Regions from separate parts of the Homo sapiens genome. Here regions 1, 2, 3, 4 and 6 are each linked to region 5. The links are contacts of gene promoters, found by promoter capture Hi-C in blood cells and fetal thymus (Javierre and others, 2016). All regions are on one chromosome and are shown on one strand. The core of a region is centred on a gene start or on the middle of the fragment in contact, and the rest is flanking DNA. Distances in the headings are between cores, read along the strand shown. Region 1 overlaps TMPO (thymopoietin). Region 2 overlaps APAF1 (apoptotic peptidase activating factor 1). Region 3 overlaps LINC02453 (long intergenic non-protein coding RNA 2453). Region 4 overlaps LOC124902994 (a long non-coding RNA gene). Region 5 holds the start of CDK17 (cyclin dependent kinase 17). Region 6 overlaps SLC25A3 (solute carrier family 25 member 3).

Region 1 (4,970 bases), core at 123-2,622, 2.1 Mb before region 5:
TATCTTGCCTGTGGATAAGTAACAGTTTGTAGACTGGTGCTTTGAGTTGCATTGATCTAGACTACTATGATTGATGTTGCAGACATGAATAAATAACAAAGAAAAGTAAGAAAATATGAGCAAAAATATGGACAAGTTATGGAACGTGAAAAGATACTGAGATAAAAGTATCAAAAAGAACAACATCACTGTTCTGAATGTGTAACAAATGTTTAATTCTGTCCTAGGTATAAAGGAGGATGCATATTATTCTATTGAACAGTAAATACTCCTTATATCCTAATTAGAATTTTCTTAGTTTTGGAGAATTGTAAAAACATAAGTAAAGCAGGAAACAGAAAACAACTTAGAGACTAATATGTGATCTAGAAAGCGTTAAATTGTTTGTACCAGGCTTCCTATCTACGCAAATCTTTAGAAAAGACAAGTAGTTCTACACAGGCAATTACTTTTATACTGTAATTTGATGGGTAGAAGCTTAACATTTTGTAATTAGCCCTATCTGGAAACTAAAACAACCTTAACAGAAAAGAAAATGTTGGCATAAAGTACCTGAAAGATAAGATAGATGTCTTTTTGTCCTTAATTTTACTAGTGTTTATTTCCACGCTTTTTAATTACTTTGCATACTTCTCCTCCAAATAATGTTCCACCTTTAAAGGGAGTGGAAGCCAGCTTATTCTTAGAAGCTAAATTAATTTTGCAATCCTTCAGCCAGAGGTATCGACGACCTACAGTGGCATTTCCCATGGTATGGGCAGCCATCTTCACTTCATCAAATGCAGCTTCACAAATATATGAGGCTGCATCATATGTTTTGCTCAGAATCCCAAGCGCTTGGTGGGTACGACTAGGATCTGAGCTAAGAATCTGTGCAGCTTGACTAATGTCTGCCTGCATAGCCTTAGCTACAAAGGCAGTGTGAGTTGCAATCTGCAATGCTGATGCTGCAGCTTCATATGCTCTACAGAGTGCTAAGTCCAACTGCTGATTGCAAGACTCAGTGGAGGCTGCTTGAATACCTCCTAGTGGAGTGGCTTCAGAAATAAACCCTAGGATTTCATCATCTACTTTTGGAACTGATAATATCTGTGTTGCCTCCCTGGAAGAAACTGGATATTTGCATGCCAGTGAAGGCAGCTGCCTGTCAACTTGCTGCCATTCTTCTTCAATTACTTTTAAAATAGATTCATGGAAGGGAAAAGATAGTTCTGAGGCATCTATTTTATCATGCTGTGATTGCTTAGCCACTTCTAGACCTAAGGTAGTGAGTGAATGAGAGACAACAGTTTTGGCAAAAGAAGACATCAGTTCGGATCCAGGTATGTTCTGAAATGCCACAAAGGAACCTGAATCCCTTTCCTCCACTGACTTCTCACTCAGTCTAGGGACTTTTCTTGGAGGAGACAGGAATTCAGTTTCTTGAAACTTAGACTGATCAATTCTCTTCTGTATGTTTTCTACATCCAGTGGGGGCATAGAGTTAGAAGTTCCAGGCAAACTACCTACCCCACCCTGGACCAACAGAGAATTGACATAATCTCTGATTGCCTGGGCAAGTGGCGGAGAAATTAGTTGTGAGCTCTCAGACTCTTCTAGTGCTTTCCTTTTACTGGAGAGAGGCGATTGATCTGAAATATGGGACCTCTCAGGACATAATGGTTGAATTCCACTTTTCTCTCTACCGCAAATATTTTCTACTATGTCTTTATAGTAACCAGTGGTGGTTTCTTTAATCAGTGAAGGAGAAGCTGCAGTAGAGACCAACATGGCACTGTGTTCAGGCTGAGAAGATGACGAAGAACTTTTCTCTAAACACCTATCATGGCTAGACTTGCATGAAATAAACAAATTCCTTTCAGAGGCTAACTTCTGCAACTGTCCCCTGCCAGGCAAGTTTGTGGCAACAAGAGGCTCCCTAGGTAGGTCTCCCTTAGAAGTATGTACTTTCTTAGCTGCCTGTAGTTCGGTACTGCCCAAAGGAGGACGGGTGGAGATTTCAGGAAAAGAAATACCCTGAAAAAATCCACCACCAGAGGGAGTAGTTCCAAGTTCAGAAAAAGGAACAATATCCCTAGTGGACTTCACTTTCTTGTGTTCTTTCTTCTTTCCTGTAGAGGCAAAAGAGGCAGGAAGTTTAAGCATTACCTGTGTTTGAGCTGATTTTATTCTTTGCCTCTTTGCTAAAAATAGTGCTGTCAAAGGAAAAGACTATAATTTCATATTCTGAACTAATCTGCCAGATTTGCCCTGGTAGACAAAGCTTATTGAGATATAAACAATCTGGATCAAAATAAATAATCACAAGTCATATTAATTAAAAGTTTACAAAAATCAAGTTGTATTTATAATTTTTAAAGGACATTTATTTCACATACTATCCTTAAAAAATATTTAAACATCATGATCAAATTTTAAGATACTATACAGTCTACTAAAAATATAGTCAAAATATTTGCTTTAAAGTTGCCCTGAGGTCAGATTAACAAAAACTGCGAACAATTTAAATGCCTATCAATAGAGAACAGAGAAAATATGCCATATTTAAATGCTACCACTATGTATTAATTATGAAGAATAAACAGATATGTAATTAACAGGATTAGATTTCAAAAATAATGGAGTAAGAAAAAGCAAGTGATAAGATTTAGCATACTGTTTATATAAATTTTTTATTCTTAAAGTATAAAATAATACCATGTATTAGACAGATGTGTATGTGAAATATAAAACTTGAAAGACAGGCATTGAATTAATAATAGTAGTTACTTCTGTGGAGGTGATAGGTACAGGTAAGTACGAGAAACTTTGCCTTTACTTGTAATACTTTATTCTCTCAGAAAAATGAGATTTGTAGCAAAAAAGACAAAGTTAACTTGCAATTTCAGGTGATGGAAAATTATGAATTTGTACTATGTTGCTTCTTAGAATTTTCAATAAAAAGTATTTAAATCAAATTACAGAATTACTCTAATGACACGAATAAAATTTGTGTATCTTGCCAATATTGTTTTAAATTTTACTTTCTTCATGGTCACTGAATTTTGAGTGTGAAAAAATTCCATACATTTGATTAACATCATTTAAAATTTTACCTTCTTCATTGTCACTGTATCTGTCAGAATCATTACTTCCATTCTGCCTTGTATTTTCTGCTGAAGAAGAAATTGTTGGCAGAGGAGTAGAAGATCTTGATTCTGTTCCTTGTTCCCTCAGTTTCAAAAGCTTTTTCTCATATAGCTTCCTGGTTGTTCCTGGATTAAGGCAGAACTTGCTTTAGTACCTGTATTGTTTCATTTAGGATGCAGCTCAGACACTATCTTCAGCAACATTTTAAGCTATTTTCACCCTTTATTTTTCTAAACTCAAGTTCTTAAAAAAAAAAATACCATATAATGCGGCCAGACATAGTGGCTCACGACTGTAAACCCACCACTTTGGGAGGCTGAGGCGGGTACATTACTTGAGGTCAGGAGTTCGAGACCAGCCTGGCCAACACAGGGAAACTATCTCTACTAAAAATACAAAAATTAGCCGGGCATGGTGGCACACGCCTGTGATCCCAGCTACTTGGGAGGCTGAGACAGGAGAATCACTTGAAATTGGAAGGCAGAGGTTGCAGTGAGCTGAGATCGCACCACTGTCCAGCTGGGAGAGGAAGTAAGATGCTGTCTTAAAAAAAAAAAAAAAAAAAAAAAGGACGTGGTGGCTGATGCCTGTAATCCCAGCACCTCCAGAGGCCAAGGCGGGTGGATCACCTAAGGTCAGCAGTTCAAGACAAGCCTGACCAACATGGTGAAACCCAGTCTCTACCACAAATACAAAAAATTAGCTGGGCCTGGTGGTGGGCGCCTGTAATCCCAGCCACTCAGGAAGCTGAGGCAGGAGAACTGAACCCAGGAGATGGAGGTTGCGGTGAGCTGATATCGCACCATTGCATTCCACACAACTATATAATGCACTCTTTTTACAACAGGTGGTTTTTTGGGAAATGACATTTCTTTTAATAGCATGAAATACATAGTAGGTTAATACAGGCCTTTCTATAGACCATCTACTGAAAAGCCATGTATGACTATTTTTGACTGAAGTCTTGCATTTATTTTCTCTACTACTACGTAATAGTACTTGCCAAGGTAGAAAAATCACATGTAAGCGGATTGTACCTCTATGAAAAATAACTATGATTAAATTTCCACAACTCTAAGACATTAATATGCCTGTATTCAGTTATGGGGAAAAGAAAAGTTCTATAAATCAGATTTAAATATAACAACTTTGCAGTTAAAATGACCTTTTATGGAAAACACATATCACAAAGCAAAATTGATTACAAATTCTTAATACATTTGAACATCAGTGACAGTTTAAAACCAAAATAGATTTTGTTTTACATTAACTGTATTATCTTTCCTTAACTCCTGGTAAGATGAGCAAAATGATAATGGATATTTTTTAGAAGCAACATGTGTCCAGAAATGTTATATAAATAGCCTTAAGATGAACAGGTCATACATCAACATATAATTTAATGTAGGCTGATATTATAACACACATTTTTCAGTGTCTCCCTTTTGGAATTTCTTTTTTTTTTTTTGAGACAAGGTCTTGCTCTGTTGCCCAGGCTGCACTGCAGTGGTGCGATCATAGCTCACTGCAACCCTGAACTTGTGGGCTTAAGCAATCCTCCCACCTTTGCCTCCTGAGTAGCTAGGACTACAAGTGTGCACTACATGCCTGGCTACTTTTTTTTTTTTAAATAGAGACAAGGTTTCACTATGTTGTCCAGGCTGCTCTTCAACTCCTGAACTCAAGCAATTCCACCACCTTGGCCTCCCAAAGTGTTGGGATTACAGGCATGAACTACCATGCCCAGGCCTTTTAGAACTTTAAACAAAAACATTTTTTAAAAGTGTTATATATCTGTTGGTACTTGTATATGAATAAGCTTATGATTATTTGGAAGCAGC
Region 2 (4,527 bases), core at 1,754-4,253, 2.3 Mb before region 5:
GGATTAAAACAGGTTATTAGTGTTATGGATCTGAGAGCAACTTACCAATATTAAGCTTCAAACTAGTAAACACTAGGAATGGCCATGATTATTATTACTGTTATCATCATCATTGTTAATTGAGCCATAAAACATCTTGAAATATGTATTTTTATTTACATATTGTCAGTAGCCAAAATCTTAAGTCTTCATAGACTATACTTAATCACCTCCACATAAATATACATATATAAAAAAGAGGGGTCCCTATGTGTAAAATATGGTAAACAGTAGCATTAGATCATTCCAGTAGCATCAATCATAAAGATTTATGTGATCTTAAACATACCAAAAAAAGCAAAAAACAGACTCAAAGATAAATGAATTAAATTACACCAAAGGGCAATTTATTTACTGGTATTCACAAATAATTAAATACAAATATAAATCACTACTTTAAAAACCTAATCACCCAAAAGAGATACTTGTATATATGCACAAAGATCTATTTACATCAGATATTTATTGGGCACTATTCTAAGAGTTCTCTGTATGTTCATTCATTTAATCCTATAGCACACTATCAAGCAGACACTATTATCTTCATTTTGAAAATGAGGAAACTGAAGAATAGAAAAGTTGAGTAATTTGCCCAAAGTTACACAGCTAATGAAGCAGAGTTGAGATTCAAACTTAAAGTATCAATGTTCAACTTCTACACTATTCTGCATCCACAAGAATATTCACTGCAGCATTGTTTGCAACAGGAAAAAGCTGGAAACAACCCACCTTAACCTACTATCCCATTGCAGGCTTCCAAAGTTTCAGGCAGGCCCAACTGAACCTTATATGTAAATGAAGTTTGGAGTACTGAATAGGACTTGACATATTAATTATGAAAATTAGACTTTTTATAACTTGAAGTGACATGGAGTCTTTGAACCTGCACAAGGTCAAGGAAAGGATCAGTCCCAGAAAAGAGGACGTAAGCAATGGTCTGGATGAAGCCTTGAGGAGCAAATACCTATTCCACTTCCCAGCATAGAGAAAAAAATCGGTTTTCACTCCAGATAAGGAGAGGACTAAAGAGTCAAGAGTATGTGCTAAGAAGCAACTGAATGATGGACAATAAAATGATGGACAATGATGGCTGAAGTCTAGGAGAGGACTGATAGTATGAATAGAGAGGATATTCTGGAATCAATGGATGAGAAGTCTTGGTAAGTCTATAGCATTAAACTTGAATAAAATGGGTGGAGGTGGGTAAAGAGTAGAAGAGAATGCTCAACATCAAGATTTCAAAAGTGCTGTAGTTCTAGTAATGACAAAGATCAGGGTCTAGCCTGTAATCAGGGAAGAGTTAAGAAATGTTCACAGGAGACAAAGAGGTTAAGGAGGTAAGAGGTTAAGGTTTTGGATGACTCATCCACACAGGTATCAAAATCACTAAGAGTGCTAACAGACAAAGAGCATAAGAGGAAGGTTATAATCTACGAACTCCAATCGTCAATGAATGAGACGGTGATTACATCAATAGGAAAGGTTAGAGACATGAACCTCAAAGCATTCAGCTGGAGAAGGGAGTATTAATGGTCTGGATGAGACAACAGAGAGCAAGAACAACGCCCACCCATTTCCTGGTGCTAAAGTATGTAGGATATAAAGGAAAAAAGTTGCCATGTCACTTAAGAAGGTTATGGAGAAGGTAGTAAACTCAGGAAACTGCCCAGTTTCAGATAAGGCAAGACGGCGAATATTCTAAGAAGTTGATGATACAAGAGAGTTTCCTGCTCACAGAGGAGTTCTACAGGGTATGGCAGAAACACATAGGAATGACAGAAGAAGACTTAGATCAGAATTTGGCAATGTACTGAATAGTGACTGCATGAAAGTCTAAAATATAACAAACAACTGGAGACAGAGAACTCTACAGTAACTGAGGTAGAGACAGGGCTGTGAAGCCTGGTTTGATTATCAGTGCCAATGTCTTAGAAGAAGGTAGACAAGCCCTACTGCTTACTCCTAAAGTTTCCTGAGGTCCCCTCAGGCCTCCTTCAGTGTAAGTTTGCAGTTATGAAACAGCAAGTCCTTGAGACTTCACTTAAACTTAAAGCTGTGTTCTGTATGTGTATATATTTATAATTGCAGAGAATAAAGTTTGGAAAAATTTACTCCGAATTGTTAACCAAGATTATCTCTAGGATAAGATTTAGAATTTAGAGCCTGGCACGGTGGCTCCCAGCACTTTGGGAGGCCAAGGTAGACAGACTGCTTGAGCCCAGAATTTCGAGACCAGCCTGAGCAACATGGTGAAACCACGTCCCTAAAAAAATACAAAAAATTAGCCAGGCAAGGCCGGGCGCGGTGGCTCATGCCTGTAATCCCAGCACTTTGGGAGGCCGAGGTGGGCGGATCACAAGGTCAGGAGATCGAAACCATCCTGGCTAACACGGTGAAACCCCGTTTCTACTAAAAATACAAAAAATTAGCTGGGTGTGGTGGCAGGTGCCTGTAATCCCAGCTACTCGGGAGGCTGGGGCAGGAGAATGGTGTGAACCCGGGAGGCCGAGCTTGCAGTGAGCCGAGACCGCGCCACTGCACTCCAACCTGGGCGACAGAGTGAGACTCTGTCTCAAAAAAAAAAAAAAGAAAAATTTTGGCCAGGCAACGTGCTGTGCGCCTGTGGCCCAGCTACTCAGGAGGCTGAGGTGGGAGGATGACCTGAGCCTGGAAAGTTGAGGCTGCAGTGAGCCAGGATCATGCCACTGCACTCCAGCCTAGGTGACAAAGTGAGACTCTGTCTCAAAAATAAAAATAAAAAGATTAAGAATTTAGGAGAAAGCAAAAAGGAACAAGTAAGGAGAACTTTTATTTCTTTTTCTTTTTAAATGAAAATACTACGGCCGCCCCTACTGGGAAGTGAGGAGCCCCTCTGCCCGGCCAGCCGCCCCGTCCGGGAGGGAGGTGGGGGGGTCAGCCCCCTGCCCGGCCGGCCGCCCCGTCCGGGAGGTGAGGGGCGCCTCTGCCCGGCCGCCCCTACTGGGAAGTGAGGAGCCCCTCTGCCCGGCCACCACCCCGTCTGGGAGGTGTGCCCAACAGCTCATTGAGAACGGGCCAGGATGACAATGGCGGCTTTATGGAATAGAAAGGCGGGAAAGGTGGGGAAAAGATTGAGAAATCGGATGGTTGCCGTGTCTGTGTAGAAAGAAGTAGACATGGGAGACTTTTCATTTTGTTCTGCACTAAGAAAAATTCTTCTGCCTTGGGATCCTGTTGATCTGTGACCTTACCCCCAACCCTGTGCTCTCTGAAACATGTGCTGTGTCCACTCAGGGTTAAATGGATTAAGGGCGGTGCAAGATGTGCTTTGTTAAACAGATGCTTGAAGGCAGCATGCTCGTTAAGAGTCATCACCAATCCCTGATCTCAAGTAATCAGGGACACAAACACTGCGGAAGGCCGCAGGGTCCTCTGCCTAGGAAAACCAGAGACCTTTGTTCACTTGTTTATCTGCTGACCTTCCCTCCACTATTGTCCCATGACCCTGCCAAATCCCCCTCTGTGAGAAACACCCAAGAATTATCAATAAAAAAATAAATTAAAAAAAAAAAAAAAAAAAGAAAATACTACTTTAAAAATATTTAAACAAACAAAAACAGACAAATAAACTATCTGTTGCCTTAAGTTTCCATTTTTTTAAATTTGTACTACCTAAAATTTGTAAAAATCGGCCAGGCACAGCAGCTCACACCTGTAATCCCAGAACTTTGGGAGGCCGAGGCGAGGGGATCACTTGGGTCAGGTGTTCGAAACCAACCTGGCCAACATGGTGAAACCCCATCTCTACTAAAAATACAAAAATTAGCCGGGTGTGGTGGCACACACCTGTAGTCCCAGCTACTTGGGAGGCTGAGGCAGGGGGACTGTCAAGAGGCAGAGGTTGCAGTGAGCTGAGATCATTGCACCCCAGCCTGGGCATCAGAATGGGGCTCTGTCTCAAAATAAAATAAAATAAAATAAAATTTGTAAAAATCATCCCAAGATTAAAGGTAAAGAAAGCATCCTGATATGGCTACCTAGTAAATTCTTTCATATTTTAATTTATGTACCTATTACCTAGGGTCAAAGGCCTTTTTCCCTAAATGTATAACTAAAAATTTAGGGCATTTAAATACATGCAAGAAAAGAGAAAACACTACCAGCTTTAAAAAGGCAAACAGACCAAATGACCATCTGATATGTAAATCTCTAACCATCACAATATAACATTTAGTTAAAAACTGAACCATTAATTCCACATTTCAGAAAGAATCTAAACATCTTGACTATGGGCACAAGAGGGAGCAATTTAGCTTTGCATGAGGAGGCTGTATTTACAATTCACTCAGAGAAACTAATTCAGAGAAAAGTTGCCTTTATTCAGGGAAAACTCCACACTACTTTCACAGGAGGCTTATCCTGGTAGCAATTAATAATCTAATAACACAAAGAAATCTTGGAAAGGACAGAAACAAATAGGAACACAGCCTATGAAGAAAGCATCCATGA
Region 3 (4,552 bases), core at 1,866-4,365, 2.1 Mb before region 5:
TTTTGTGCCAAGCATGGAGATAGGCATTGGGCACAAAAAATTAGTAAGACTCACTTCTTGCCCTCAAGGAACTCAAATTTCTTGAGGGAGGTGGACTTTTAACTGATAGTTACAATACAATTTGGTAAGTGCTATGGTGGAGGCATAGCTCATGCTGATGGAGAGCCTGCTATGCCTTAGGCTTCAAGTGCCTTATATAATATTAACCATTGTCCAAGGACAAAGTTATAACAGATTTAAAGATCTTAATTGGCTTCCATTTGTGATTCTAAAATCAGGCAACATCTCATTCCATAAAATAGAATGAGTATTTCAATGAGCTGAACAGAAGAGTTTGGCTTTTATTTTATTTTTGAGACAGAGTTCCGCTCTTGGTGCCCAGGCTGGAGTGCAGTGGCACAACCTCAGCCCACTGCAACTTCTGCCTCCCAGGTTCAAGAGATTCTCCTGCCTGAGCCTCTTGAGTAGCTGGGATTACAGGTGCCCACCACCATGCCCAACTAATTTTTTGTAGTTTTAGTAGAGACGGGGTTTCACCATGTTGGCCAGGCTGGTCTCAAACTCCTGACCTCAGGTGATCCACCTGCTTTGGCCTCCCAAAATGCAGGGATTACAGGCATAAGCCACCTTGCCTGGCCAAGGTTGGCTTTATAGACAAAAAAGGGTTGAGCAAAGCAGAAACAGAAAACACAAAGTGGATTGGTGCTTTAAAGTTACTTTCCGTTTAAAGGTTAAAGCAGAGTGGACCTTCTTATCATTCCAGCGAAAACTGACCTGCTTGGGGATTTGACTATTATATCTCGCTGCTGATTTCTTTCTCTCTTTTTTTTCTCTCCTTTTTTTGAGACAGGGTCTTGCCCTGTCACCCAGGCTGGGGTGATCACAGCTCATTGCAATCCCTGCCTGAACCGGTCTTCTCACCTCAGCCTCTGGAGTAGCTGGGATCAGAGGCACGCGTCACTATGCCACTAATATTTTGTATTTTTTGTAGAGGGATGGTGGTGGTGTTGGGGGGTGGGGGCTCTCCATGTTGCCCAGGTTGGTCTTGAACTCCTGATCTCAAGCTCAGCACCTGCCTTGGCGTCCCAAAGTGCTGAGATTACAGGTGTGAGCCACCATGCTCCGCCCCCTCCTGATTTCTTGGAAGGTCAGATAAACAACTTATTTTCAGCTTAGTGGTGTGGAACTCCAGCATGAGTGACTCTATTTTGGTTTGTCTGTTGGGCCTAGTGTAGGAACTCAGTTCAAACCAATGACTTACTATACATTTTATTTAATACCATTTAATCCTTATTTAAATCCTATGAGTTTGCTATAATAATTTTCTCCTTTTTACAGTGAGGAAACTGAGGCACTGGAAGATGAAGGCTACAGAGGTAGAAAGTGATGGAGGTATGTGCAGAATACTACGGGATTACAGAGAGGGAAGGGCTGGAGTGGTCAAAGAAAGACCTATTTTTAGCTGGGCCACCAAAGAATGATGATGAACTTAGAAAAAGAATGGGGGAAATGTTTTCCAGCACTTAGGGAACAGAGAAACATTAATACAAAGGCTCAGAGCATGTGGCAATTTGGGAAAAGTGGCAATGCGGGAAAGAGTATATGGTGGAGGGGCTGCTGCTTAGGGGACTGGAGTGGCAGGGGGCAGGAAATGTCTTCACCTTTCATTATAATGCATGACTGGGGAGAATTAAACATCACAATCTTTGAGGAACTGACAGGAACCTTACCTATCTTCTTGATCCTTTCGTTATACAGATAAGGAAACTGAGGCCAGACAGCTCCAGTGATTTAACTAAATTCCTGTGGCCGAGAACATCACCTTTATCTGTTGCTGTAAATTAAGGAATCTGTGGGCTTAGTGATTAGGTGTCCCTCAGAGGTTTTCAGGGCCTCAGATCTTGCCATCACTTTCCTTAGAGTTATCTGTTCCTGGGCTGGCCTAAGCTTCCTGTCCTTTAAGGAACCTGCCTGCCAACATTGGCCCCAACCCAACAGGAGATCAGTGACCTCCGTTTTCCTGACTTTTTTCCTGCCCTACTGACCACCTGCTGACCTATCCCGGTTAATAGCTTTACTGATCTGTCTAGCTTTGAGGCAAACACTAGCCCCAGTGTGAGGAACAAAGGGTCCTGGTGACCCACACCCCCTGGCCCTTTGGCATTCAGTCCTCAGGCTACCCAGAAGGACAAATTATTCAGCCTGTTTGGGGTGGGATGGAACAGTTTCTACTTCTTTTCTTTGGATTTTTTTTTTTTTTTTGAGACCCGTCTCACTCTGTCACCCAGGCTGGAGTGCAGTGGTGTGACCTTGGCTCACTGCAACCTGCGCCTCCCAAGTTCAAGCAATTTTCATGCCTCAGCTGCCCGATTAGCTGGGACTACAGGTGCGGGCCACCATGCCTGGCTAATTTTTGTATTTTTAATAGGGATAGGGTTTCACCATGTTGACCAGGCTGGTCTCAAATTCCTGACCTTGTGATCCGCCTTGGACTTCCAAAGTGCTGGGATTACAGGTGTGAGCCACTGCGACAGGCCTTTTCTTTAGTCTTTCCGTGTTTTCTAAACACAAAGCAACAGAAAAACTTCTGCTTCAAATGCATGACTCAGGTCTGGCATTCAAGTTGCTGCTATTTTGGGAAAAAAGCTGCCTGTAGCTTTTGAAATTTCTTATTCTCCTACCTGTGATTAACTCATATGATTAGCAAAGTTTTATTATCAGAATTTATCAATAAAATGAAGTTAGTGATCTAGAAAATAAGAAGAGAACCAGCACAAAATAGCACGCAGAATCCCATTTTTTTTCTATGCATTTGTAAGTACTGGAAACGTCTGGTGGCTGGGTGCGGTGGCTCATGCCTGTAATCCCAGCACTTTGGGAGGCTGAGGCGGGAGGACCACTTGAGGTCAGGAGTTCGAGACCAGGCTGGCCAACAGAGTGAAACCCCGTCTCTACTAAAAATACAAAAATTAGCTGGGCGTGGTGGTGGGTGCCTATAATCCTAGCTACTCGGGAGGCTGAGGCAGGAGAATCACTTGAATCTGGGAGGCGGAGGTTGCAGTGAGCCTAGATCGCGCCATTATACTCCAGCATGGGGACAGAGTGAGACTCCGTCTCAAAAAAAAAAAAAAAAAAAAGGAAGAAAGAAAGAAGAAAACATCTGGAAAGAAGTAGCTGAAGATATTAAAAGTAGTTATATCTGGGTTAAGAGTGTGTTGATGATCGCTGTTCTTTTTGCTATTCCACCTTTTCTAAATTTTCTACTATGTGCATATATTGAACTCAGAAAAGCAAACAATAAAATTTTCTTTAAAGTTATTAATATTAGGCAAAGCAAATAGCTCAAATGTACATTTGTGATAGTCCTCTTAGCCTATGACATGTTGAGTAATGTATTCTAGTTTGGTTTTCCTTGTTAGCCAGATTTCATTATTTTGCAGCTTAAGTTGTTTATTTCTAGTTCCTTAAGGTGGGGAGGAGGTGAGGAGGTGAGGAGGGTGAAGAAGCAAATTCCACTTCAGTAAAACAGGGCGTGCAGCCTTTTCCCCTGAGTCCCTTTGTCTCAAGGCCCCTGTGTTCCGGGTCTTTTGTTGTTCTCTGCATGGACTTTGATTCGAGATTTAAAGAAAAACAAGTGCTGGCCCTCCTTGCGCCCTCTGGTGTCCCAGTGAGGTATAACCGGACAAACCGCACAAAGATCACAGCCATTTTCACACAGCGCTCCCCCGACACAGTGATGCCTGGAGACGGGAATGTCTGGAATCTTAGAGGAAGGAATCACACACCGACAAGCATGGCAGGCTTAGTCTTTGAAACTTAATCAGAGCCTGTAAGTATGGATACTGTTTTTTAAAAAATTAAAAGCAGTATCTGGACTGCAAGTATTTAAAAAACCTAATAGGAAATAAGTCAACTCTCAAAGCATTTGGCACAGCTTTCTGGGTTCTAAAACTAAGAAAATCTTACTACATATGTTGTTTTATAAATACAGCATAAACCAGTACTTTGTTATTTGTTTTAAAAATTTCTTTTAGAGACAGGGTCTTGCTCTGTCACCCAGGCGGGAGAGCAGTGGTGCAATCTTAGCTCACTGCAGCCTTGAATTCCTGGCCTCGGGTGATCCTCCATGCTTCCGCCTCCCAAAGGACTGGGTTTACAGGTGTGAGTCACTGTGCCTGGCCTAGAACTTTGGATTAATTGCAAATAAATTAGGTGAAAGAGAGGTCTGGATACCTAGGCTTTAGCTTGACTGAGGATAATGATTTCCGCAACTTTAAGCTTTACCATGTAGACCAAAAATAAAATTCTAAGCTCCCCAATCAGTTGAATGGATGCCTCCTTGTCCAGGGGCATTCCAAAGTTACCTGAAACGCTAGTTCATGTCATGATGGGAACAGGTGGTCAGACAAGCCTCATTATACTCTCCTCCCTTTGGGACAGAGTCCCTTTGGGATTCAGGCACATCTGACCAGCATTAACATAAGTCTGACAAAGAAGGCTTTTTGTAGCAGTAAGATACCAACATGACAGACAGCAGGCCCTGAAGTAAATT
Region 4 (5,140 bases), core at 890-3,389, 2.1 Mb before region 5:
TTTTTTGAGATGGAATTTCGCTGTTGTCACCCAGGCTGGAGTGCAATGGTGTAATCTTGGCTCACTGCAACCTCTGCCTCCCAGGTTCAAGCGACTCTCCTGCCTCAATCTCCTGAGTAGCTGGAATTACAGGCACAAACCACCATGCCTGGCTAATTTTTGTATTTTTAGTAGAGACGAGGTTTCGCCATGTTGGCCAGTCCGGTCTCAAACTCCTGACCTCAGGTGATCTGCCTGCCTCAGCCTCCCAAAGTGCTGGGATTACAGGCGTAAGCCACTGTACGTGGCCTAGTTAACATTTTATATATCAGCTTGCTACATATGCCTAGGAATGCTACAAATGTACATTCTGGATTATAAGAAAATATGGGACTGTCCCCCATTTCTTTTTGTCTGTATTTCTAACTTTTATACTATAAGGACATATATTATTTATATATATGTATATATTATGTTATATACTATTTATATGCTGTTTACTTATAGGATTAATTTTTCAATCCACATAATCAGGATTGATCAATATTTTTTAATATCAAATAATCCCAGGATATAAATCTAATTGCTATAATACAATAGCATTCAATTAATCATTAGTGTATTATTGCCAATGGGAAATTTAAGAAGCATATTTAAAAGAGTAGAGTTATAACTCAGTTGAACCTCTGATTAATTTTATCAGAAGAGATGAAGTCATTGGAGGAAGAGTAAATGCTGTTTAGGGCCAGCTCCTAGTTTAGGTTAGCTTAGATTGGTAGGTTTTAACTCACTTAGTGGGTCATTCCTAGGACAGAAGAATCTTAGGCTCTTGGCCTGGAGCTGTTGGTTTGCTCTAGGGTAAAAATTTGGATCCTAGTCAGATTACAAATTTAGTTAAGTCTCATATAGTCCCTGAGGGAGGGGAGATGGGGGTGCTGTTTTTCTTCGCAGTTTCTGCAGTTGCTTCAGCCTGGAGCGTGCTGTTGCTGCCAGGAAGACAGGCCTGTCTAGTGTAATCTACGAGAGAGAATGCTTGGCATTCCTGGACAATGAAGCACAGAGAGAAAATGAAGATTCCCTGAGAGGTGCCAATCTCCTTGAAAATAAATCAGATTTCAGCCTGGGCAATGTGGTTAAACCCCGTCTCTACAAAAACTACAAATATTAGCTGGGCTTGGTGGCATGTGCCTGGAGTCCCAGCGACTTGGGAGGCTGACGTGTGAGGATCACTTGAGCCTGGGAGGCAGAGGCTGCAGTCAGCCAAGAGTGCACCACTGCACTTCAGCCTGGGTGACAGAGCCAGACTCTGGCTCAAAAAAAAAAAAAAAAAAAAGAACAAGAAAAATAAATCAGAAAATCAGATTATTAGGAGAGCCCTGGGAGAGGAGGATGTGCAATTGTGTGTGTGTGTGTGTGTGTGTGTGTGTGTGTGTGTGTGTGTGTGTGTGTGTGTGTGTGTGTCTGTGGTTTTAAAACAAATTGAAAAACTTGATGGGAAATCATAGGAAAGCTTATATAAAGGGAGGATCAGAGGAAACTTACAAGCTGCTGAAATCTGTATAATATCAGGATTTAAGCCACGGAGATAATCTAGGAATGAACTTTTTAGATAGAAAAAAAGGTGATGTGTTTTTCTTGAATAGACCTGTTGATTTGTTCATTCAGGTTTTTTTTTTGTTTTCTGTTTTTTTTTTCTAGAAACTCAAGACCTGCTCGTGTAAACAAAACCTTAATAACATTTTGATTTCTAAAGGTTTATGTTCATTGTTTCTAAAGTTTTAATAATGAGGAAGGTGAAAAAAATTTATTATTATAAATATCAATTGCAAGAAATCATATTAAAACAATGTCCTTAAAGTTTAAGATTTTTCCCACTTCAAATTCCTGGAAATGTAAAAACACAATCTTTCAGTTTTTCTTGTTGAAATAATAAAGTGTTCTGAATAAATCTACTGATTTTACATAGAGTTCTATGGCTTTGATACTATAAAATGAAATGGTTTGAGATTGAAATAATTCAATTATTTTAAATATTCCTGCAGTTCTTAAGTGTGTAGCCTTATTGGGAACCTAAAGTGGAATAAGACAATTGCCTAGTGTCTGTATTTATAGTGTAGGTCCCTGTTGGAAAATTTCATTGAGGTTTCTTTTTCTTTCCTTCTATTTTTTTTCTTTCCTTTTTTTTTTGTTTTTTTTTTTTTTTTTGAGACAGGGTCTCAATCTGTTGCCCAGGCTGGAGTATCCACCTGAAGCCTCCACTTCCCTGGCTCAAGCGATTCTCCTACCTCAGCCTCTCGGGTAGCTGGGATTATAGGCACTTACCACCATGCCTGGCTAATTTTTTAATTTTTCTGTAGAGATGTGTTTCACCATGTTGCTCAGGCTGGTCTTGAAGTCCTGGCTCAAGAAATCCACCCACCTCGGCCTCCCAAAATGCTGGGATTACAGGTGTGAGCCACCGCGCCTAGCCCCAACTCACAGTTTTTAATTGCTGTGAATACTCCATGGTGTGCATCATTAGGAGGAGAGCTTTTTAAGGAGGCAAGAGAATTTGACAAACGTGGTAGAGATGGTCAGTAAGAAGGGTTACACATTGGGAGATTTAGTAGTATGGAGGCCAGTGGCAATGTTTGGTGGAGCAGGTTCTTGGGGTCGTGGGGGTAGAAGCCAGACTGCACCGAGCAGAGGCCTGTTTGGGAGGAGAGCAAGTAAGACATTGACTACACTCAGCCTGCGAGGGAAGCTGGACCATCCAGGGAAGGAGCAAGGGGATGCAGAATCAAGGAAGAGCTTGGAATTTTTAAGCTTTTGTTATCCGAATAATCCATGTTCAATGTAGAAAAATTAGGAAATTCAGATGAGCAGAAAGAAAATAACAAAATGGAAAGTATATTCATTTCTTAGGGCTACCGTAACAAATTACCACAAACTGGTGCCTTGAAAACAACACAAATGTTTTTGTTTCTGTTCACATTGTTCTGGAGGCTATCTGAAATCAGAGTGTCAATATGGCTGTGCTCCCTCTGAAGGCCCTACGGGAGTACCCTTCCTTGCCTCTTCCTAGTTTCTGGTGGTTGCTGGCAATTGTTGGTGTTCCTTGGCTTGTAGCCACATCCCTCCAATCTCTGCCTCCATCATCACAGGGTGTTCTTCCTGTGTGTCTCTTCTGGGTCTCTGTTTTCTCTTATAAGGACACCAGTCATTAGATGAGGACTCATCCTAATCTAATAGGATCTCATCTTTTTTTTTTTTTTTTTGAGATGGAGTCTCTGTCACTCAGGCTGGCGTGCAGTGGCATGATCTCGGCTCACTGCAACCTCCGCCTCCTGGGTTCAAGTGATTCTCCTGCCTCAGCCTCCCAAGTAGCTGGGATTACAGGCATATGCTGCAACGCCTGGCTAATTTTTGTAATTTTAGTAGAGATGGGGGTTTCACCATGTTGGCCAGGCTGGTCTCAAACTCCTGACCTCTGGTGATCCGCCCACCCTGGCATCCCAAAGTGCTGGGATTACAGGTGTGAGCCACTGCGCCCCACCAAGACCTCATCTTAATTTAATTATATCAGCAAAGACCCTCTTTCCAAATGTGGTCACATTCTGAGGTTCCAGGTAGACATGAATTATTGGGGAACACTATTTGACCTAGCATTTCTTTTTGCTTTCTTTTTTTTTTTTGACACAGGTCTCGCTCTGTCACCCAGGCTGAGGAATGCAGTGGTGCCATCTTGGCTCACCATAATCTCACCTTTGAGGCTCAAGCTATCCTCTCACTTCAGTCTCCTGAGTAGCTGGGACCACTAGTGCGTACCACCATGCCAGGCTCATTTTTTTTTTACATTTTTGGTAGAGACAGGGCTTTGTCGTGTTGCCCAGGCTGGTCTTGAACTCATGGGCTTAAGCAATCTGCCCACCTTGGCCTCCTAAAGTGCTGGGATTATAGGCGTAAGCCACTGCGCCTGGCTAGTATATTCTTTTCCCCTCTCCCCTCCTCTCTTTCTCTCTCTCTCCCTCTCTGTCTCTCAAAGGATGAGGGGAAGCATGAGTGTGTTTATAGATTAAATGAAAGAGTTAGGAGAAAAGAAGAGGTTGGAGATAAATCTTAGATACTTGGTAGGTCAGAGTCTCAGCAGAGAATGGAGAGGTGGGTTGGAGAGCACTGGGGAAGGGGATGGGCCTGGGGCCTGCCTGGGTCACACAGCCTTGCCTGGTCACTGACTCCCAGCCTGATGCGGAATTACTCTCCTCAAGAGCACCCTGCCTAGGTACAGCCTTTCACGGGTCAGCCTTAGCAAAGGCTGTGATGGGAGGGAAGAGGAACATGCCCCAAATGGGATCAAATGCAGGGCTCTGGGAGAGAGCTGACTGGAAGGATGCTTGCATCCTACCCTTCACCTCCTCTCTGGGGTTTCAGGAAAACATAATGATCATAATGATGTTTTTATGTTTCCTGTGATGTTGGTCATCTTCCCCTCCGCAACCCCTGCCTCCCTTCAAGTTTTGCCTGCATCTTATAAACTGGAAAAACCCAAGAAACTCCTAAGTTCTATATAGTTCAGTAGTAGGTAGTGGCCTCTGCCAGTCGGAAAATCCCAGAAACATGGCCAGTTTAAAACCAACACTTGGCCGGGCGTGTGGCTCACGCCTGTAATCCCAGCACTTTGGGAGGCCGAGGTGGGAGGATCACAAGGTCAAGAGATAGAGACCATCCTGGCCAACATGGTGAAACCCCGTCTCTACTAAAACTACAAAAATTAGCTGGGCGTGGTGGTGTGTGCCTGTAGTTCCAGCTACTCAGGAGGCTGAAGCAGGAGAATCGCTAGAACCTGGGAGGTGGAGGTTGCAGTGAGCCGAGATCATGCCACTGCACTCCAGCCTGGGCAACAGAGCGAGACTGTCTCAAAAACAAAAAACAAACAAACAAAAAACCCAACACTGGAAATGGAAATGGACTTATCATTACGGCCCTAGTTCAGCACACACAAGATGTATAGGGAAACCAGTATGATAGGCCTGATGACCCTGGGCAGGTAGTCAAGGGTAAAGTTTCTTAGGTGATGAGAGGCCTGGTACTTCTAGTCTCTAACATGCATTCTTGAGCAGGGATGTGATGTACCCTACAGAGGACACACTGGCCACTGTAGCTGACAACACAGGGAGACCAA
Region 5 (4,915 bases), core at 2,091-4,590:
TGTATATTGTGAATTTCCAAAAGGGAGATAAAGTATGTGGCATTCCTCAAGTGGATTTGATCTTGGAATTCTTCCTCAATCTTTCTCCTCCACTAAGCACTATGGAATATCTATTAATGACAGTTAGGGAAATATTCTAAGTAATTTTATAATTTAACATAGTTTTACAAGGTAAAAAAAAAAGCCTATATTACAACCTACGGAAAAAACAACTAACATGCTCACAATATTACATATAATTTTTTTTTTTTTTTTTCAGACAGAGTCTTGCTCTGTCACCCAAGCTGGAGTGCAGTGGTGTGATCTCAGCTCACTACAACCTCCACTTCCTGGGTTCAAGCGATTCTCCTGCCTCAGCCTCCTGGGTAGCTAGGATTACAGGCTCCTGCCACCACGCCTGGGTAATTTTTGTATTTTTAGTAGAGATGGGGTTTTGTTATTTTGGCCAACCTGGTCTCGAACTCATGAGCTCAAGTGATCCACCTGCCTCGATCTCCCAAAGTGCTGGGATTACCGGTGTGAGCTACCGCGCCTGGCCAAATTTTAAATCGGTTTAGAAAAGTAATTAAATAGGCCATGGGGCTGGGTGCTGTGGCTCACCCAGCACTTTGGATCACTAGAGCTCATGAGTTCGAGACCAGCCTGGCCAACATGTCCAAACCCCGCCTCTACTAAAAATACAAAAATTAGCCGGGCGTGGTGATGGGCACCTGTAATCTCAGCTATTCAAGAGGCTGAGGCAGGAGAATTGCTTGAACCCAGGAGATGGAGATTGCAGTGAGTTGAGATGATGCCACTGCACTCCAGCCTGGGTGACAGAGCAAGACTCCCTCTAAAAATAAATAAATAAACAGATAAATAAATAGGCCAGGGGTGGTGGCTCCTGTTTGTAGTCTCAGCACTTTGGGAGGCCGAGGTTGGAGGATTGCTTGATGTCAGGAGTTAATACCAGCCTGGGCTGTCGGCATAGTGAGACTCCATCTCATTTAAATAAATAAATAAATAAATAAATATGAAAAGTAATGAAATAAATATTGTGCAATCTGTAATTTTTTTTTTCATTGAAAGAACAAATCCTCCAGGCACGGTGGCTCACGCCTGTAATCCCAGCATTTTGGGAGGCCGAGGAGGGTGAATCATCTGAGGTCAGGAGTTTGAGACCAGCCTGGCCAACAGGGTGAAACCCTGTCTGTACTAAAAATGCAAAAAATTAGCCGGGCGTGGTGGCGGATGCCTGTAATCCCAGCTACTTGGGAGGCTGAGGCAGGAGAATCGCTTGAACCTGGGAGGCGGATGTTGTAGTCAGCTGAGACCACGCAACTGCACTCCAGCCTGGGCAACAAGAGCAAAATTCTGTCTTAAAAAAAAAAAAGAAATAACAAACCAATCAATCAAATAATCACCTAAGTTTTCATTATGAATTCGTCTTTTTTTTTTCTTTTTGAGACGGTGTCTCACTCTGTCACCCAGGTTGGCGTGCAGTGGCAGAATCTCAGCTCACCGCAAACTCCGCCTCCCAGGCTTAATGGATCCTCCCACCTCAGCCTCCCAATTACGAATTCTTTGTTATGCTAATGAAAGATGTAGAAAGAGGAGAGGGTGCTTTGGATGAGACAGAATAATCTTTTTATTTCTCATGGAGTAATGTTAATCTAATGATATGAAGGTATAAGTATTAATGCTGAAACTCAGAATGCCATTTCATAGACTCCCTTTTTTGGTGATTTTTTGATATTTACTAAAGTACTAATTTAGATGAGGCAAGTATATGAAAATCCTTTCATATAAATAGGCCTTGTATAAATATCAGTGTTTCTCTTTAACTTAAAAAGAACTCTGAAAATGATGCTACATCTTGCTATATTATAAAGTTCCAAGTTTGACTTGGACAAATCTAAAAAGCCTCATTAACAGTGCTTTTAAACAAAGCGCACTTGTTCTAACGGAAAGCTTGTTATGTATATTTGCATTCTTGGTTGGTAAACAAGTGTTAAATACGCGTAGAGCATAATTGTTGCTAATTTACGGGTCCTGGTAATTTTAGAGGCATGGGAAAAGCCTGATTGACACGTACGATCGTTGGATATAACTGTAGATGCATTTAACTTTGCCAAACAAAATAAGAGAAAGATGTCAGCATGCAGCATTTTTAAGGGGGAAAGGATTCATCCCTAAATCCAAAAAGATAATTCCCCGAAGTTCTTAGCACATAATGTGATTTGAAACTTCAAAGCAGCTTCTACTTCCGGGTGTTAACATGGGAAAAAAAATTTATCTCACTTCACAGGACTTTTATGTGGGTTTTTTTTTCTTGTTTATGTTGTCTACATCCGGTCCCTACTCTCTTCTTTCAATCCTCTCATTATCTCCCTCTAGGGGTTTAAGTTTGTTTTAACTTTATGCTTTTATCCTTATTAGTGGAAAAAAGTGGGTCAGTATTACTTTAGTTTGTCTTCACTGCCACTCTGCTGTTCATTCCTGAACTAGCTTTTAGCCTCTGGGAAAGGAGAAAGTAAAAACAGTTGCAGAAACTGGGCCAACCTCTCGCGGCCCGCCTCCCCCAAGAAAACAAAACCTAACCCGTGCAACAGTAGTCCTTTCTGTTTTCATAGCACCTTGTATTTCTCCGCTCATAACGTTCAGATTTTTATGATAGTTATTGATCATCTTTCATCCCAGCTAGACTCTCCGTCCTTAGAGGACTCAGCATATTGCCGGGCACATGATAATATATACAAAACACTGTACTGTAGTTTAAATGAATAGATGCCGTGTGTGTGAGAGACTGCGGCACTAGTACCCACGTACCCACACACAACAAAGGAGAAAAGTTGCAGCCATCAACATCTTTCAGTGTGGGTCCTTTGACATGGACTCTCTAGAAAGTCAGTGGAGAACTGTGGCATGGACACCTTGTACAGTAATTACTTGTATAACTGAAGCACGAGTTTTGGTTTGGTAGCGGGAAGTTGAGGGGCAGGGGGATGTTGGAGGGGCTGAATTATTCACATAATTTCTCCCCCAGTCGCTGCGGACAGGCACTCATTCCGGTGGGGTCCCCTGGCCCCCTCCGCCGCTCCCCCGACGCCCGCATTTCGGAGCGGGCAGTTTCCCGGGGACACCCGCCCCGCCCTGCAGGCCCCGCCCCCGGCCGCCGGCCCCGCCCCCGCCTCCGCCGCCGCCGGCAGGGGTCGCGCTGCCCCCGGCGAGCCGCTCAGGCGGGGGTGGGGTAAGCTCCCGCGGCCGGTCGCTTTTCTCCGCCGCCGCTGGTTGGATCGTTTCAATAAAAGTGTTTTTTCTCTTGCACTCGCTCTCCTCCGGGGAACAGGCGGAGGCGTCAATCCGCAGCCGCCGAGTGTGAAAGCGACGCACACGCAAGGAGCGAACGCGGCCGCCCGCAGTCTCCTGAGCTCCCCGCGGGCCGCCGCAGAGCCGCGGAGAAGGAGCCAGCGCCCGGCCAGACAGTCTCAGCCCGCCGTCGGCGCCCGCCGCGCTCGCGCCCGGCTGCTCCGAGGGGATTAGTGGGCCGTCCGCGCGGCTCGTCGGCGCGGGAGCCATGTTGACCGAGGGACTTGGCAACGCGTGAGACACCCGCGGCCCCTCCCGAGGCTCCGGACCCGCGGCGAGAGCCGGAAGGCGGCTGTGGCGGCGGAGGCCTGCGCTCGGAAGCGCCTCACGTCTGCCGGCCGCTGAGACCCGGACTTGCATCCGGTCGCCGCGGGCGTCCGCGGAGCAGCTTCCCCCCGCGCCTCTCTTCGCCTCGCCTCGGGACCCGCGGTCCCCGCTCTTGCTGGTGAGTTGGCGGCTGGCGTCCGCGCCGCGCTTTCCCCTGGTGTCGGGTCGGCCGCGGGGCCGGGAGGCTGCGTGGGACAGAGGCGGGGGCGGGGGCTACTGGGGGCGCGGGTGGCTCAGGCCCGGTCGGGAAGTTGAGCGAGGAGGCGCGGCGCGGGGGGCTAGCGTGCGCCTGTCACCTCTCCGGTCCAGCGAGGACCTTGGGTCGCCCGGGGATTTCCGGGGCTCGGGTGGGGTGTGAGTGTCTGCGAGCTGCTTCCCAGGAGGCGCCGACAGATATAGACGCCGCCGCCTCCGGTGCTCGCTGCCGCTTTGGTCTGCGGGGGAGGCCGGTCTCCTCGCGAGGCGGAGGAGGGGAAAGAGGCAGAAAGTCCCCCGAGACACAAAGGTCCCCTCGGCGGGGGTGGAGCTGGAGGCGCAGGCGACGCTGCCCGGGAGGGGAAGGAAGGGGCGCGGGTCCGCGGGAGGTGGGCGAGGAGGCGGCGGTCGCGGCGCCTGCAGCTCCTTGGAGACGCTGGCGCTGTGCGCGGGTGGGGAGCGCGGAGGAGGAGGAGGAGCCCGCGCGTGGGAGCGGGTAGAGACAAAGATCAGGGCAGCCTCCTGCTGGCGGGTCACACCCCGGAGTGTTGGTCAAGAGCGGAGGTAGAGGGAAGGTGGGAAACCCAGCAAACCGATGGGGAGGGGAAAATGGGGGGAGGAGGGTGCCTAGTGCTGTCTCCGTCGCAGTTGCTTTTCTCAGCATTTTTGTGCCCGATGCTATGCCCGATGCTTTTGCTCCCCAACTCAGCTGGATAGCTCCAGATTCCCTCCCTCCTGTCACCCCCACACTGCCACATTGACTCTCCTGTGGTTTTTCCCTCGTTCTCCCCCTACTTTTCACCCACTCCTTTTCGGGTAAGCAGTATTTTGCTTTCAGCTTGGGGAACATTTGTTAATGACAGGATGTCTGAGCTTGTTCTGACCCTGAACTGCCTTGAACTTCTCTCTCTTCCTCCCACCCTTTCCTTTTCTGGGATCTATAATGTCACATGGCCGTTAACAATTAGCTTTTCTTTTGCAAAAGTGGCAAAAAGCGTTTAGCTGAAATCTGTGGCTCTCGCCTCCTTTACATGAATATGTCCAC
Region 6 (4,818 bases), core at 1,402-3,901, 2.2 Mb before region 5:
AGGAGTTCAAGACTAGCCTTGGCAACATAGCAAGACCTCATTTCTGCTAAAAATAAAAAACATTAGCCAGACATGGTGGTCCACACTTGCAGTCCCAGTTATTCAAGAGGCTGAGGTGGGAGGATCACTTGAGCTTGGGAGATCGAGGCTGCAGTGAGCTATCATCGTGCCACTGCACTCCAGTCTGGCGACAGAGCAAGACCTTCTCAAAAATAAAATATGGTCGAAACGGGACAGACAAGGCGGCTACCTGTAACCCTGGCCGCTTTAGGAGCTGGGGCAGGAAAGTTGCTTGAGGCCAGGAATCCGAGACCAGCCTGAGCAACAGCAGGACCCGTCTATGAAAAAACAGGAGCAAGTAGTGGCACATCCCAATTGTGTCAGCTAACTGGGAGGCTGAGGCAGGAGGATCGCTTGAGCCCAGGAGTTCAAGGCTGTACTCCAGCCTGGGCGACAAAGCAAGAACCCTGTTCTCTAGGGAAAAAAAAAAAAAAGTCAAAACATTTCATAAAACTTTCACACAATGGAGGTTTAGTTAAGCTGTTACTCTTCTGTTCAATTTTGTTGCACCTATCAGAAGGCATAATTTCATAAAATCAGGATTCCTTGGCGTTTTAACCACTCTCAAAATATTTGATCCTACTGGAAGTTACTATGCAATGCTATCTTGTCCCTGAATCAACATAATTCAACTATCAGCTTCATATATATATATATATATATATATTTTTTTTTTTTGAGACAGAGTTTCGCTGTTGTTGCCCAGGCTGGAGTGCAATGGCGCAATCTTGGCTCACCACAACCTCCGCCTCCCGGGTTCAAGCGATTCTCCTGCCTCAGCCTCCTGAGTAGCTGGGATTACAGGCACGCACCACCACCGCAGCTAATTTTGTATTTTTAGTAGAGACAGGGTTTCTCCATGTTGGTCAGGCTGGTCTTGAACTCCCGACCTCAGGTGATCCACCCGCCTCGGCCTCCCAGAATGCTGGGTTTACAGGCATGACCCACTGTGCCTGGCAGTTTCGTGTATTCTTACTCCACTGGGTTCTGCTTTATCGTATTGACAGTAGACATTTCATTAAATGAAATGTAAAAAGAACACCAATACATACATATTAAAATTTTCTTACTAGAATCTTTTAGTATAATTTAAAAACCTGAAATGAGAATTCGCATCACTTTAAGTGGGCCTCTTGGGTTTTGAGGATGAAGTGGCTTTCTCTCAGAAATAGCTTTGAACCGTAACTCTAGTAACTACAGTGGCAGGCTCCATAGCTTGAACACAGCGTATTTTGTATCAATGCCCACAAATAAAACCTATTATAACTCTTAGGAAATAAAACTTGAATCCTGATTGGCAGAACTGCCTCAGTAAGGGCTGGCTGAACTGCATACCCAAAATGTTTTAGATCTACGGTCCACTTTCACGTTGGCTGGACTAATGCGTTTCTACTGCTCCTCTTACACGTTGACTGACTTTCCTCTCAGGAAGAGGTAGAGACTATGTTCCTTTTTTCCTCAATCTGGGACTTGGTTTCTGAGACATCACTGTTGTAACCAAGAGCATGGTAAAAGTGATGTTATGTGACATTGAAGGATAAGTCCTAAAAAGCCAACTCTGCCAAGCTCTCCTGGAGCCCCAAAATACCACCTAAGTCCAGCTGCCCTGAAGCCACCATGCTAGAGATTTTCGGGAAAGACTATACCACTAATAGTGAAAAGCACAAAGAGCATCCTTTCAGCTCAGAAGTGAAAAGCTTCATGAGACTCAGAACCAGAAGAGTCTGATACTCCCGAGTTCTTCACCCACAGAAAAGCTTATCATACACCATTGATCTTTGGATGCTTTGCTAACATAGCAAGAAATAATATACAGTTGATACTGCTAAGCACCACAGCCACCACTTGGTTGGGTTCAGAAGACATCCTACTTTACCTTTTTAAAGTTTGGTCCAAATTTGTACCTACAACTTTTCCTTTTTTCCTGCAGCACAGGTAAAATGTTGGAACCTTTAACAAGTTCAGGCAATGATGATATAAAGAAGTTAACATGCAACTAGCTGCACTGGCTTCTAAATTGAGTTCACTGACCTTACCATGAGTTTGTAGTAACATTTCTCTCCAATCTCTGAAAAAGTTTTTCTCTCCAGGCCATCTGTACGCTTTACGTAGGGACTGTTAACCAACCCACGTATTACACATAAGGACTCTAGGTAAAATCTAGTGTTTGAAAAACAGCATGTTATATATTACACTAGGTTTTTCGTTTTTTTTCCAGTGGTGGGCTGTCATTACAAAAGATTGAACTTTTATACACTTCCTAATCAAACTTAAGGGGAATCTAAACACAAAAACTAATTCACTTTCTAGGAGCTCTTTAAAAATGGGCTTAAACCTACAATCCAATCTCGTATCTAAGTATGATGGAATGCTTTTTCCCCAGTGGCATTCATATAGTTCAGCTGTCAAGCAGTACCTTTCTTAAAATACCAGACTGAAAATAGTTCAATTTTCTGTAAAAAGTCAGAGCCGGGCACGGTGGCTCATGCCTATAATCCCAGCAGTTTGGGAGGCTGAGGCGGGCGGATCACCTGAGGTTGGAAGTTCGAGACCAGCCTGACCAACACAGGGAAACCCCGTCTCTACTAAAAATACAAAATTAGCTGGGCGTGGTGGCACATGCCTGAAATCCCAGCTACTTGGGAGGCTGAGGCAGAACAATCGCTTGAACCTGGGAGGCAGAGGTTGCCGTGAGGCGAGATCGCGACACTACACTCGTCTGGGCAACAAGAGTGAAACTCCGTCTCAAAAAAAAAAAAAGTCAGATCTGTGTAAAGAGAATTAGTGTACCTGAAAATTGTTTTCAGCTGTCAATCACTTTGGTCCTTTACTGTCATTCTAAGAATCAGCCTAATTTGGTTTACCTTGTCTTACAAATAAGGATTAGCAAACTCACCAACATAAAAAAGGTGTAGTACATGCTGCAAAAATGTAAGTATACACTGACATTTACTTGCCAAAATAACCACAAATGACTACACATATTTAACTATAATTAAATCAAGTTTTTAGAAATTTAAAGTCTGCTTCCCTAGAAATACAGGAACTTTGTGTGATAAAACTTGAGACATATGACAATTTCTGAATAGCAACTGGAATATTCAACCAACAATGGTCATGGTCAGTTTTGTATTTTTTCCTTAACTTATATACTTCATTCTTTCCAACTATTTTAAAGCTAAATCTTTTTTAAAAAAGTTTTAAAAATAAGTCACAGGCAAATCATGAAGAGTTGGGTTTATTTCAACAGTAAATCTGAAACTCTTGCCTTAAGCAAGAGTACTACAGTAATTATATCAGGAATAGACAATTTCCTACACTGTCAAATATATAAAAGTTCCTTTTGCACTTTCTTCAACACTGATCAACAAGCAGATTCAGTCCACATTTGCTTTGATCTAACTACTGAGTTAACCCAAGCTTCTTCTTCAGAGACTCTGGCATCTCGGGTGGAGGAGGGCGAGGAAGTCTGAAGTAGACCTTCACGGAGTCATAGATAAACCACTGTAGTGCAGTCAGGGTACCAATCATGATGATACGGGCAAACAGTCCCTTCCATACACCTGGTTCAAACAGGAAAAGCAAATGAAAAAAATGCAACATATCCAAAACTGTTGTTCTTTCTTTCAAGAAAAAAACATCATCCTACCTTTAAATCCAAGTCTCTTGAGGACCAGAGAAGCACTGCTACCTTTTTCTTTATTCAACACAGATACCACAGAATCAGCAGGGTGAGAAACAATTGCACAAAAGACTCCAGCTGAAAAAAGATAAAGGATCCCATACAGTGCCAGTTAAAAACAAAACTTCACAGAGCCAATAATCATTTTTATGATTTTAAAATAATATTTTTCTAGTTCTAAAATAAAAATCAGACTCAGGGTGACACGGGTACAGTTATCAAGCTGTCTATCCTATGTAAAACGGAACAATCTTTTAAAGTTTTTCAGATTTTATTCAACACTTTCTGTATAAAATTCTTAATAAACAACAACAAAAAAATGGTGCAACAGTAAGATCAATACATTCCCAAGCCTAATAATGACATCCCATGAAACAGCCCTTTTAGGAACTAGTTAGCAAGTATTTATGAATCCTAAAAAGCATATAAAATGTTATGGGAAGATAAAACTGCTTTATAGGCCAGGCACATCACCTGAGGTCAGGAGTTTGAGACCAGACTCATCAACATGGTGAAACCCCATCTTTACAAAAATCAGGCCAGGCGCGGTGGCTCACGCCTGTAATCCCAGCACTTTGGGAGGCCAAGGCAGGCAGATCACCTGGGGCCAGGAGTTTGAGACCAGCCTGGCCAACATAGTGAAACCGTCTCTACTAAAAATACTAAAAATTAGCCGGGCGTAGTGGCAGACGCCTGCAATCCCAGCTACTCAGGAGGCTGAGACAGGAGAATCGCTTGAACCCAGGAGGCGGAGGCTGCAGTGAGCCAAGATTGCACCACTGCACTCCAGCCTGGGCAACAAGGGTAAAACTCCATCTCAAAAAAAAACAAAAAACAAAAACAAAAATCAGCCGGGCATGGCGGTGCATGCCCGTCCCAGCTACTTGGGAGGCTGCGGCAGAAGAATCACTTGAACCCAGGAGGAGGAGGTTGCAGTGAGCTATTATCATGCCACTGCACTCCAGCCTGGGCAACAGAGCGAGACTATGCCTCAGGGAAACCAAAAAAACAAAAACACTGCTTTATAACCTTTGGAGTATTTTTCCCTCTCAAAAAACGCCAATAATGGAAATGAT

What was found. Contacts are between HindIII fragments. The CHiCAGO score rates a contact against its expected background, and 5 or more counts as called.
Region 1: a contact is called between a fragment that was not itself captured here and the fragment with the promoter of CDK17 in region 5, in 1 of 17 cell types (fetal thymus). The highest score is 6.0, in fetal thymus.
Region 2: a contact is called between a fragment that was not itself captured here and the fragment with the promoter of CDK17 in region 5, in 1 of 17 cell types (M2 macrophages). The highest score is 5.9, in M2 macrophages.
Region 3: a contact is called between a fragment that was not itself captured here and the fragment with the promoter of CDK17 in region 5, in 1 of 17 cell types (M0 macrophages). The highest score is 7.5, in M0 macrophages.
Region 4: a contact is called between a fragment that was not itself captured here and the fragment with the promoter of CDK17 in region 5, in 1 of 17 cell types (M0 macrophages). The highest score is 7.4, in M0 macrophages.
Region 6: a contact is called between a fragment that was not itself captured here and the fragment with the promoter of CDK17 in region 5, in 1 of 17 cell types (M1 macrophages). The highest score is 5.1, in M1 macrophages.

The regions. Positions count from the first base shown.
Region 1 is chr12:98,529,964-98,534,933 of GRCh38, reverse strand. It overlaps TMPO (thymopoietin), which reads right to left. Exons shown (of 9, transcript NM_001032283.3): 3 at 3,096-3,254. Among named protein-coding and RNA genes, the nearest start is that of TMPO-AS1, 16 kb to the right of the region's middle. The HindIII fragment of the contact is 1,786 bases long and covers 480-2,265 here.
Region 2 is chr12:98,653,888-98,658,414 of GRCh38, reverse strand. All of the region lies in intron 4 of APAF1 (apoptotic peptidase activating factor 1), which reads right to left. Among named protein-coding and RNA genes, the nearest start is that of APAF1, 11 kb to the right of the region's middle. The HindIII fragment of the contact is 5,891 bases long and covers 58-4,527 here.
Region 3 is chr12:98,490,271-98,494,822 of GRCh38, reverse strand. It overlaps LINC02453 (long intergenic non-protein coding RNA 2453), which reads left to right. Exons shown (of 4, transcript NR_038383.1): 3 at 1,339-1,392. Among named protein-coding and RNA genes, the nearest start is that of TRD-GTC1-1, 11 kb to the left of the region's middle. RefSeq lists a silencer at 3,998-4,292. The HindIII fragment of the contact is 2,331 bases long and covers 1,950-4,280 here.
Region 4 is chr12:98,471,337-98,476,476 of GRCh38, reverse strand. It overlaps LOC124902994 (a long non-coding RNA gene), which reads left to right. Exons shown (of 2, transcript XR_007063420.1): 2 at 1,678-1,927. Among named protein-coding and RNA genes, the nearest start is that of TRD-GTC1-1, 30 kb to the left of the region's middle. The HindIII fragment of the contact is 1,295 bases long and covers 1,492-2,786 here.
Region 5 is chr12:96,398,864-96,403,778 of GRCh38, reverse strand. CDK17 (cyclin dependent kinase 17) reads left to right here and starts at 3,340. Exons shown (of 17, transcript NM_002595.5): 1 at 3,340-3,793. RefSeq lists an enhancer at 2,357-2,576 and silencers at 2,997-3,326, 3,417-3,596, 3,777-3,936. The HindIII fragment of the contact is 3,343 bases long and covers 1,953-4,915 here.
Region 6 is chr12:98,600,173-98,604,990 of GRCh38, reverse strand. It overlaps SLC25A3 (solute carrier family 25 member 3), which reads right to left. Exons shown (of 8, transcript NM_002635.4): 7 at 3,710-3,820; 8 at 1-3,623. The coding sequence ends at 3,463. Among named protein-coding and RNA genes, the nearest start is that of SNORA53, 2.9 kb to the right of the region's middle. The HindIII fragment of the contact is 1,663 bases long and covers 1,820-3,482 here.